2 separate regions of the Homo sapiens genome follow, and region 1 is linked to region 2. The links are contacts of gene promoters, found by promoter capture Hi-C in human tissues and cell types (Jung and others, 2019). All regions are on one chromosome and are shown on one strand. Each heading gives the region's core, a stretch centred on a gene start or on the middle of the fragment in contact. The rest is flanking DNA. Distances are from core to core; before and after follow the strand shown.

Evidence for each region. The method cuts DNA at HindIII sites, captures the fragments that hold promoters and counts their contacts. A contact is called where the count stands out against the background at its distance.
Region 1: a contact is called between a fragment that was not itself captured here and the fragment with the promoter of CABLES1 in region 2, in 5 of the 25 tissues and cell types used here (adrenal gland, bladder, mesendoderm cells and 2 more).

Annotation. Positions count from the first base shown.
Region 1 is chr18:23,010,443-23,015,716 of GRCh38, forward strand. The region is part of intron 16 of RBBP8 (RB binding protein 8, endonuclease); the gene reads left to right. Among named protein-coding and RNA genes, the nearest start is that of RBBP8-AS1, 79 kb to the left of the region's middle. The HindIII fragment of the contact is 5,014 bases long and covers 1-4,114 here.
Region 2 is chr18:23,132,027-23,137,879 of GRCh38, forward strand. CABLES1 (Cdk5 and Abl enzyme substrate 1) reads left to right here and starts at 3,459. Exons shown (of 10, transcript NM_001100619.3): 1 at 3,459-4,581. The coding sequence starts at 3,737. RefSeq lists silencers at 2,258-2,347, 2,358-2,467, 3,228-3,307, 3,428-3,637, 3,768-3,977 and 3 more and an enhancer at 2,658-2,807. The HindIII fragment of the contact is 17,284 bases long and covers 1-5,853 here.

The DNA.
Region 1 (5,274 bases), core at 358-2,857, 120 kb before region 2:
ATTAAAAATTAGCTAGGTGTGATGGTGTGTGCCTATAGTCCCAACTACTCAGGAAGCTTTGAGAAGATCGCTTGAGCCCAGGAAGTCAAGGCTGCAGTAAGCTATGATCACACCACTGCACTCCAGCCTGGGCCAACAGAGTGAGACCCTGTCTCCAAAAAAAAAAAGAACTGTCATTTTAAATGTTTCATGTTAAAGGTTCACTAGTTTTTTAGAAAATATGTATGAGTAGTTTTATTTATTCTGAAGCAATTAGATAGCTGGAGAACAAGAGGTGAATGGAAGTGTGGGGATGGAGGCATGGAGATGCTAGAATTCTCAGAGTTACATTGTTGCTTTTTCCACTGAGAATACTAAGACTGCAAACCTGGGAAGATGGATTGTGTAGTATCAGGGACAAGAAGCTTGTTTAAGTGATGCTTTGAGGTCTACTACAGATGCTGTTCTGCTAGGAGATTCCCTACGTCACGATAAGACACTATAGAAGTGGAGTAGTTAATATTCAGAAGAAAGGATATGGCCAAAATGTGATCTGCATAATCTTAGGAGTCCATAAACTCTTTGAAAGAAAATATAGTTGTGGCAATATTTTTTGTGTGTACTTTTCTGGTTTCCCTTTTCTAATTCACAGATCACACCAGAGCTGAGGGTTCTTGAGTTGAAACAAAAAAGGACTTATACTTAGAGTGACTAAAACTTTTCTTTTTGAGGGAAAGTGCTTGCCAACTAGAGGGGCATGTATGTGATCTTTTTATTACACTTCTATTTAAGGTATACTTTCTGTTTCATGGTGCTTTATTGCACTTTGCAGATACTGTTTTTTACAAATTGAAGGTATGTGGCAACCCTGTTTGAACAAATCTGTCAGCGGCATTTTTCCAACAACATGTGCTTACTTCATGTTTCTGTGTCACATTTTAGTAATTCTCACAATATTTCAAACTTTTTCATTATTATATCTGTTACAGTGTTCTGTGATCAGTGATCTTTGATGCTATTTTTTTTTTTTTTTCGAGACAGAGTCTCGCTCTGTCGCCAGGCTGGAGTGCAGTGGTGCCATCTTGTCTCACTGCAAGCTCTGCCTCCCGGGTTCATGCCATTCTCCTGCCTCAGCCTCCTGTGTAGCTGGGACTACAAGTGCCCGCCACCACGCCTGGCTAATTTTTTTGTGTTTTTTTAGTAGAGATGGGGTTTCACCATGTTAGCCAGGATGGTCTCGATCTCCTGACCTCATGATCCGCCTGCCTAGGTCTCCCAAAGTGCTGGGATCACAGGCGTGAGCCACCGTGCCCGGCCTGATGCTGTTATTATAAGTGTTTTGGGTCATCATGAACGATGCCCGTGTAAGACAGCGAACTCAATCAATGAATGTCGTGTGTGTTCTGGCTGCTCCACCAACCGACCATTTTCCCATCTCTCCTCCTCTTCTTGGGCCTCCCTATTCCCTGAGACACAACAACATTGAAATTAGGCCAGTTAAGAACCCTGCAATGGAAGCAGGCATGGTGGCTCATGCCTGTAATTCCAGAACTTTGGGAGGCTGTGATGAGCAAATCGAGACCAGCCTGGGCAACATGGAAGAACTCCATCTCTACAAAAAATACAAAAAAAATTAGCTGAGCGTGGTGGCACACGCCTGTAGTTCCAACTGTTATACTGCGGGAGGCTGAGGTGGGAGGATTGCTTGAGCCCAGGAGGTCGAGACTAGTGAGCTGTGATCGCGCCACTGCACTCCAGCCTGGGAGACAAAGTGAGATGCTGTCTCCAAAAAAAAAAAAAAAAAAAAAAACCAACTATGATGCCCTTTAAGTATACAAGTGAAAGGAAGAGTTGCACATCTCTTACTTTTAAATCAAATGCTAGAAATGATTAAGCTTAATGAGGAAGATATTTCAAAAGCCAAGATGGGTAAAAAGCTAGGCCTTTTACACCAGTCAGCCAAGTTGCAAATGCAAAGGAAAGTTCTTGAAGAAAATCACAAGTGCTACTCCAGTGAACACATCAATGGTAAGAAAGTGAAACAGACTCACTGCTGACATGGAGGAAATTTCAGTGGTCTAGATTGAAGATCAAACCAGCCACCGCATTCCTTTAAGCCAGTGCCTAATCCAGAGCAAGCCTCTAACTCTATTTAGTTTGAGGAAGCTGCAGAAGAAAAGTTTGAAACTAGCAGAGGTTGGTTCATGAGGTTTAAGGAAAGAAGCCATGTCCATAATATAAAAGTGCAAAGCAAATGGCAAGTACTGATATAGAAGCTGTAGCAGCAAATGATCTAGAATATCTGGCTGAGATCAGTGATGAAGGTGGCTGAACTAAACAATAGATTTTCAGTGCAGATGAAACAGCCTTCTATTGGAAGAAGATGCCATCTATGACTTTGATAACTAGAGAGGAGAAACCAGTGCCTGGCTTCAGAGCTTCAAAGGACAGGTTGACTCTTGTTTGGGTTAATGCGCTGGTGACTTCAAGTTGAAGCCAGTGCTCATTTACCATTCTGAAAATCCTAGGACCCTGAAGAATTATGCTCAATCTGCTGTGCCTGTGCTTTAGAAATAGAACAACAAAGCCTGGATGACAGCACATCTGTTTATGGCATGGTTTACTAAATATTTTAAGCCTATTGATCAGAAAAAAAAAAAAGATATCCTTTCAAAATATTGTAATCATCCAACAGTTGTTTTTTCTTTTTTTCCCACCATACAAATAGAGCTGATTCACTGAGACAGTGATATTATAGTAGAGAAAGAGTGTAATAATTGCAGAGTTAGTCAAGTGGGAGGACTGGAGTTATTATTTAAATCACCTTCCCCTAAAATGTGGAAGCTATGGTTTTTTAAGGATAGTTTGGCAGAGAGGGAGCTGGGAACGGGGAATGGAGATTGGTTGGGTTGGGGATGAAATTATAGGGGTCAAAGGTGTCTTTTTGCAGAGTCGGTTTTTGGGTGGGATCACAAGATCAATTGAACCAGTTTTTTGGTATGAGTTACCAGCGCAGGTGAGCCCACCTGGTCCGTCAGAATGTAGGGTCTGAAAAATACCTCACACCCCAAGGTTTTATAATAGTAATATCATTTGTATGTAGGAGCAATTGAGGTTAGAAATCCCATGACCTCTGTCTGCATGACTCCACTACTGAGCTATAATTTTAACCTCTTGACTGATTTGCTGGTTTTACATAGATGGTTTAAGTCTCTGAGCAAGAAGGAGGAGTTAGTTTTGGGAAGGAGCTGATAATCATCTTTGTTTTAAAATAACCTCGTGGCTAATTTGTTAGTTTTACAAAGGTGGTTTCAGTCCCTGAGCAAGGACAGGGCTGATTTCCAGAAGGAGCTGTTGTCATCTTTGTTTTAAAGTTAAACTAAATTTTTCTCATAGTTAATTTGGCCTATGCCCAAAAATAAAGACAGCTTAAAGGTTAAAAGCAAGATAAAGTCAGCTAGGTCAGATTTTTTCCACTGTCATAATTTTTGCAAAGGTGACCTCAATACTACTGTTCATTGACAAAGCACGTTGTCACCCAAGAGCTCTGATGGAGATGTACAAGGAGATGAATTTTTTATTTATTTATTTATTTAGAGACAGAGTCTCACTCTGTCACCCAGGCTGGAGTGAATGGCGCGATCTTGGCTCATTGCAACCTCCGCCTCCCGAGTTCAAGTGATTCTCGTGCCTCAGCCTCCCAAGTAGCTGGGATTACAGGCATGTGCCACCACGCCTGGCTAATTTTTTTTTTTTGTATTTTTAGTAGAGACAGTGTTTCACCATGTTGGCCAGGCTGGATGAATGTTGTTTTCATGCCCGCTAACACGTATCGTTCTGCAGACTGGATCAAGTAGTAGTTTGACTTTCAAGTTCTCTTATTTAAGAAATACAGTTTGTAAGGCTATCCCTGCCATTGATTCCTGTGATGGGCAAAGTAAACTGAAAACCTTCTGGAAAGGATTCACCATTCCAGATGACATTGAAAACATTCATGAGGCCAGGACTTCAAGACCAACCTGGGCAACATAGTAAGACCTCATCTGTACTAAAAAGCAAAAATTAGCTGGGTCTTGTGGCTTGCACCTGTAGTCCTAGCTAACTCAGGAGGCTGAGGCAGGGGGATTACTTGAGCCCAGGAGTTCAGGCTGCAGTAAGCTATGCTCATGCCACTTCACTCCAGCCTGGGCAACAAAGCAAGAACCTGTCTTAAAACAAACTAACTAAATAATAATGAATAAAATAAAATGTTGTGCTTCTTGATTGCTTTTTCTTCCCAACGTACTCCATAGCATATTAATCCATACCTAGTGGCTTTGACCCTCCTAGGTTTCCGTGATTCACAGTAGGATCTTATTCATTTAAAAATAACAACAAATGATAGTTATGCCTAATATTTTGAAGAATTCATGGTAGGTGGAAGCAGCATAAGGTAATTTTTCTTTTTCTTTTTTCTGGTTTTTTTTTGTTTTGTTTTGTTTTGAGACAGGATCTCACTTTGTTACCTAGGCTGAAGTGCAATGGCACAATCATTATTCACTGCAGCCTCAAACTCCTGGGCTCAGGCAGTCCTCTCACCTCAGCCTCCTGAGTACCTGGGACTATAGGTGTGTGCCACCACAGCCAGCTAATTTTTTATTTTTATTTTTTGTAGAGACAGGTGGTTTGATATGTTGCCCAGGCTGGTCTCAAACCCCTGGTGTTGGTCTCAAGCAACCCTTTTGCCCCAGTCTCCCTAAGTGCTGGGATTATAGGCATGAGCCACCACACCTGGCCAGTAATGTTTCTCATAAATAGGATGGCAAATGGCATACAAACAGATGAATCTGTTCTCTGGGCAGAAGAAGTTAGTCCTGAAATCTGGGTTCTTAGTACTGGAAAACAGGCAGTATTTTTTTTTAATGTTATACAATGCCAATTTATGAGTTTCATAATACAGTATTCATTTTTAAATAGGTTATTATATTTTACCTCCTAACCTAATTGTTATTTTCAGCCAGTGAAAGGCAGAAATAAGAAGTAATAGTAATTGCCTTTCAGTATAATCCCACTTGTATATTTTTGCTTTTATTGTCTGTTATTTTGAGGTCTTATTCATAAAATCTTTTCCCAGACCATTGTCCTGAAACATTTCCCGTATTTTTTTTTTCTAGTAGTTTTATAGTTTTGGGTCTTACATTTAGTTCTTTGACTCATTTTGAGTTGATTTTTATATTGAGTGAGAAATAGGGGCCTATTTTCATTCTTCTGCAGTGGATATCCAGTTTTACCAGCACCGTTTATTAAATAGACTAT
Region 2 (5,853 bases), core at 2,209-4,708:
TAATGCTCTCACCAACACCACAGGGTGGTTATAAAGATTAGAAATACTCTGTGGCTGGCATACAGTAGGTGAACAATAAACCATATCTCAAGATCCCCAAAAGGGGGTCACAGAGGCAGTTTGGAGATTAGACATTGATTCTTGTTTGATGCTTTAATAAATATTTGAAATTCGTTTCATACTTCACACTTACAGTAGACAAAAGGTTATAGAAAATGAAGGTTATAAAAAATGCATACTGATGGAAACTTTTTGGTATTTTTTAATCGATGTATCATGGTTGTAAATATTTTGGGGGGATGATAGAAACATTTCAATACCCAGCAAAATTGTAAGAAAGCAGACTGAACAACCTTTAAGGATGAAAACCTTAAAAACACGAAATGCCATTTGCCCCAGCATCTATTTAACCTAAGAAAATAATATTGGGTGGTAGCAAGATTTAGAAAAACAAAGGAAGTCATCATTGCTTTATAAGAGCAAAAGTGGAAACCACAAATTTATTAAATGCACAGGTTTAAAAGTGTACAGTCTCTCCATCAAATTGAACACTATGTAGTCATTAAAATAAAAATTCTTCCATGCAGAAAAATATTCTACATGGAAAGATAATCACAACACAGCAGGCAAAAATCACAAGAGACAAAACAGCCTGGCTGGGCGTAGTGGCTCATGCCTGTAATCCCAGCACTTTGGGGGGCCGAGACGGGCGGATCACGAGGTCAGGAGATTGAGACCATCCTGGCTAACACGGTGAAACCCCGTCTCTACTAAAAATACAAAAAAATTGGCGGGGCGTGGTGGCGGGCGCCTGTAGTCCCAGCTACTCGGGGGGGGCTGAGGCAGGAGACTGGCATGAACCCGGGAGGCGGAGCTTGCAGCCTGGGTCAGACAGCAGGACTCCGTCTCAAAAAAACAAAACAAAACAAAACAAAACAAAACAGCCGATTTCACTTTTGTTTAAAAACACACCCAAGGCCAGGTATGACAGCTCATACGTGTAATCCCAGTGCTTTGGGAGGCCACCATGGGAGGACTGCTTGAGGCTGGAAGTTCCAGACCGGCCCGGGCAACATAGTGAGACTTCATCTCTACAAAAAAATTTTTTCTTTTTCTTTTCTTTTTTTTTTTTTTTTTTGAGATGGTGTCTTGCTCTGTCACCCAGGCTGGAGTGCAGTGGCACGATCTCGGCTCACTGCAACCTCCGCCTCCTGGGTTCAAGCCGTTCTCCTGCCCTCCTGCCTCAGCCTCCCCAGTAGCTGGGATTACAGGCACGTACCACCATGCCCAGCTAATTTTTGTATTTTTAGTAGAGACAGGGTTTCACCATGTTGGCCAGGCTGGTCTCGAACTCCTGACCTCGTGATCTGCCTGCCTCGGCCTCCTAAAGTGCTGGGATTACAGGCTTTAGCCACCGTGCCAGGCCAAATTTTTTTAAAAAAATTAGCCAGGTGTGGTGGGTGCCGGTAGTCCCAGCTATTCGCGAGGCTGAGGCAGAGAGAATCGCTTGAGCTCAGGAGTCTGCAGTGAGCTATGATCACACCAGTGCACTCCAGCCTGGGTGACAGGCTAAAAGAATATATATACATATCTCTCTATAAAATATATGAAAATACAAAACAGAAATCAAAATTTAAGTTTTACGTTATTTCCACAGAAGATATTGTTAGTGATACCCCCTTTTTTTTTGCTCCTCTTTGCTTATCTTATGTTCTGAAATTAACATTTATCATTTTTGAATGATGGAAAATATATTTTACAGGAGCACCGTTGGAGTCTTTCACTTAACACTGCCTCCCAACCAGGCCAGTGGTCATGTAAATTAAGTCAATTGTCATAAAAGGGCTTGGAAGTTTCAAGGTAGTTAGCCAAAATAATTAAAATCCTGGTGAAATTTCACAGAGCTGGCCATTGAGCTTTGACTCCACTGACATGAGGCTGCTGTAAACAGACACCAGGCTCCATGTTTTCAAAAGGCCTAAAAACAGCACAAAATAAAATATAACAACGATTGTTCATGTAAAGGGCCACGTGCCATCTCTGTCCTGAGCAAATGTAACCTGAAACCCTCTCTGTCTGGCACTCCGGGTTGGCGGCACCTCTCTGGACGGTGTATTTGCTCTCCATTACTCAATTTACTTTCCTGAACTTGAAATGGAGTGGAATTTCAATGTAGAGTTACCCATTAGCTCCAGGGCTAAATTTAAACCTTTAATTAAATTAATCCGTTGATCTGAAACACATTGCTTCTCCCTCAAAAGTGCAGCAGGTTTCTTAGGTGTCACAGAGCTTAATTCAGTGTGGCAATTGTTCCTTACTGCATTTGTTAAGTTGCCCATACCGCCTGGGGAAACCCGCACACGTTTTCAGATCCCTCCAGGTGAACTCCTCCACCCTGTCCCCGCCCCCGCCCCCACCCCCAACCAAAACAAGCATTCGTTGTGGGTGGGGACTGCGACTCCTCCCAGATTCAGAGCTACTGCTCTGGGAGGGCCGTCAGGAACCCGTATTTATAGAAGACATGGTAGGTGCCAAACGTGCTTATGAGATAAACGACAGGGTAACTGTCCACATTGGTCCCAGTTTATGAGGGAGAAGAGATCATAATCTACAAAAATTTGCAAGGTGACCAGGGGAAAAGAGTGTAAGGTCATTTTAGCCCACCTGGGTCTTCACAGAAAATGGAGCACATTTCAGAGCCAAAGTAAAAAATTTGCGTTGTCCTTTGCTAAGAGAGAGATGAAAAGTGACAATACCATGGATTGGGGATGCGTGAGTTCGTTGGCCACATGTAAGATGTTCGTGCTTCTGGGCTCTTATGCATCCCAAGGCGTGCATTTATCCCGGGGGCTGCATCCTTGGCCTGGGAATGAATAGACCCAACTGCAATGGTTGTTAGCGATAGCTTTACGGTGGGACAGTCTCCATAGGGGCTGTGGACTTACCCGTGTTATTATGAAAAGGATCTATTTACTTCTCGGGGACCAACGGCCTTGCGGGGTCCAAGTAACTCGCTCGCAGTCCAAAACTCTGCAACGCTCCACATAACCGTCCTGTAGACCCACAACTCTCCCAGGAGCACAGCCCCAGGACCTAACCCACCGGGTTCTGCTCGCTCACCCAATTCCCAGTGCGAGCGCGCGGGGGAAACGTGCTCGCCTCCCGCACCTGGCTTCCGCGGCCCCGGGAGTCGCCAACTCTCCCAGCAGGCAGCTCCGACAACCCGGACAGCCGGGCCGATCCCCCGCCCCACCACCCGCTCGGCTCTCGCGTCCTCCTCTTCCTCCTCCCGTGGCCCCTTGCCTCCCGCCGTCTGCCTCTGCGGCCGCCGCCTGCGGCTTTGTTTTCCTCCCAGGTCGCATTCCCCACACGTGATTCCGTGTTATTGCAAAGAGGGCTTTGGAGCGCGAGCGCGGGGCGCGCGCACCTATAAATACGGACACCCGGCCCCGGAGCCCGCGAGCCAGCGGCCAGGCGACCGGCGGGCGGCCAGCCAGCGAGCCGAACTAGCCGAGCTAGGTAGCGAGGCGTGCGCGTGGGCCGGGGCGGCGGCGCCCCCATCCCCAGCACCGAGGGGCGAGCATGGCCCGCCCGCGGGGGGGCTGGACCGCCGCGCACGCCGCCCGATCCCCGCGCCCTACCCAGCCCGGGTCGCCGCCGCTCGCGCCCGCCGCTTAGCGCTCGGGCGCCGCTCGCTTCTCCGGGCATCGCGGAAATCCCGCCGCAGACGGACACAATGGCGGCGGCGGCGGCGGCCGCCACCACGGCCGCCTGCAGCAGCGGCAGCGCCGGCACCGACGCCGCGGGCGCCAGCGGATTGCAGCAGCCGCCGCCGCAGCCCCAGCCTCAGCCCGCGGCCGCCGCGCCGGCCCAGCCGCCGCCCGAACCCCCCCGGAAGCCGCGCATGGACCCGCGGCGCCGCCAGGCTGCCCTCTCCTTCCTCACCAACATCTCGCTGGACGGCCGGCTGCCGCCGCAGGACGCGGAGTGGGGCGGTGGCGAGGAGGGCGGCGCGGCCAAGCCGGGCGCCGGCGGCGCCTGCGGCGCGAGGACTCGGTTCAGCTTGCTCGCCGCTGCCGAGCGGGGCGGCTGCATCGCGCTCGCCGCGCCGGGCACGCCGGCTGCGGGGTTAGCCGCTGGGTCCGGCCCCTGCCTCCCACAGCCCTCGTCGCTGCCGCCCTTGATTCCTGGCGGCCATGCGACCGTGTCCGGCCCCGGGGTGGCGCGGGGGTTCGCGAGTCCCCTGGGCGCCGGCCGGGCGTCGGGGGAGCAGTGGCAGCCGCCCCGGCCGGCGCCTCTCGCCGCCTGTGCCCAACTGCAGCTGCTCGACGGGTCCGGGGCCGCCGGGCAGGAGGAGTTGGAGGAGGACGATGCCTTTATCAGCGTGCAGGTGCCGGCGGCCGCCTTTTTGGGCTCCGGGACCCCCGGGAGTGGGAGCGGCAGTCGGGGACGCCTCAACTCGTTCACTCAGGGAATCCTGCCCATCGCCTTCTCCAGGCCGACTTCGCAGAACTACTGCTCCCTGGAGCAGCCAGGCCAGGGCGGCAGCACCAGCGCCTTCGAGCAGCTGCAGAGGTCCCGGTGAGTATCCGGGATGCGACGCGCACCCAACCCTGCGTCCCGCCCGGCGCTCCCAGCCTCCCCGCGGTCTCTGGGCTACGGGACACGGGTTGCTCCCATTTTCCCGCGCCCTGCCGGATCCTGTGCTCCGGGCCCGAATCCCAAACCACGAGGGCACCCAAAAGAGGGGGCGTCCCCAGGGAGTGCGGGGTTACACGTGTTTGCACGAGCCCAGCATTCGCAGAGGAGCACCGCGCTTGTGCAGTGGGTCGGGAATTGGGAGTTGCAGGAGCCCAGTAGAAAGCGGCGTCCGAGCCTCCCCACACGAGATCACAAACTTCCTGAAACCCGGTCCAGACCCGGAGGCGCACTCTTCCCCGCGTGGGGCGAGACTCGGCCGGGCGCAGAGTGGAGCAGTGCAGGCCGGCAGCTGAGCGGCGCGTGTGAGCCTGAACTTGTAGCAGACACGCGTGACCCTCCGGAGAAGTTCTTGCCTGCGCTCCAAGTCTTCTTGCGGCCCGGGGAAACTTGGCTTTTTCCATTTGCTTTCCTGAGCAATGGAAAGTCCTTCTTACATTGCCTCCAACTAGGCCTAGGGGGGTGGGGAACAAAGAGGAAATAGGGCTTGAGGGATTTTTTTCCTATTCCAAGATGAATTTGCTTGAGTTCGTTAAACGCTTGTTTTACTTGTTTGTTAGCTGAAGTTATCTGGCGGCATTAGGCGTCTTAGCAAAAACATGAAACGCTGGACGTTTGCTTATTGTTCAGGAAATAGAGTTTGTCACCATGTATTATTCTAAGGGGCAGTCGGAGGTTGGGACTGTGTGAACTGAAGCTTGCAAAAGAAGTAGGCGAGTAGGCGGGAACAGGTGGGGAAATGCAGATCCGTTCCTAGGGAGTGCCCTCCCTTGTTGGTTAATAAGGCCTCTTGTGAAGTTAGCAATAGCATAGACCCTACCTTGACAAAGTTGTTTTAACTTCTTGGGGCCTCAGTTATCCCTTCTGGGAAAGAATGACTTTCTCTGCTAGAATTTCTCTCTCCTATCATGCTTACCTGAAAGCTTGATCTGGCCCAAGTAAGAAGGTGCCTATGGGAAAACTTAACTTCCTCCCGCAATGGACAAATGGGGGAAGAACAGGCCCGCCTCATCCACAAGTTTGCCCCTAGTGTACTTCTTCCGAAGTGGGTGAAATCATGAGGGTGCTAGTTATGTAGCCTCGCTGTTTGAGTGCGCATGGCCCGCAAGCCAGGGGTGTGGAACCGGGGAAGCAGCCTCATAAGTGCATGGATGA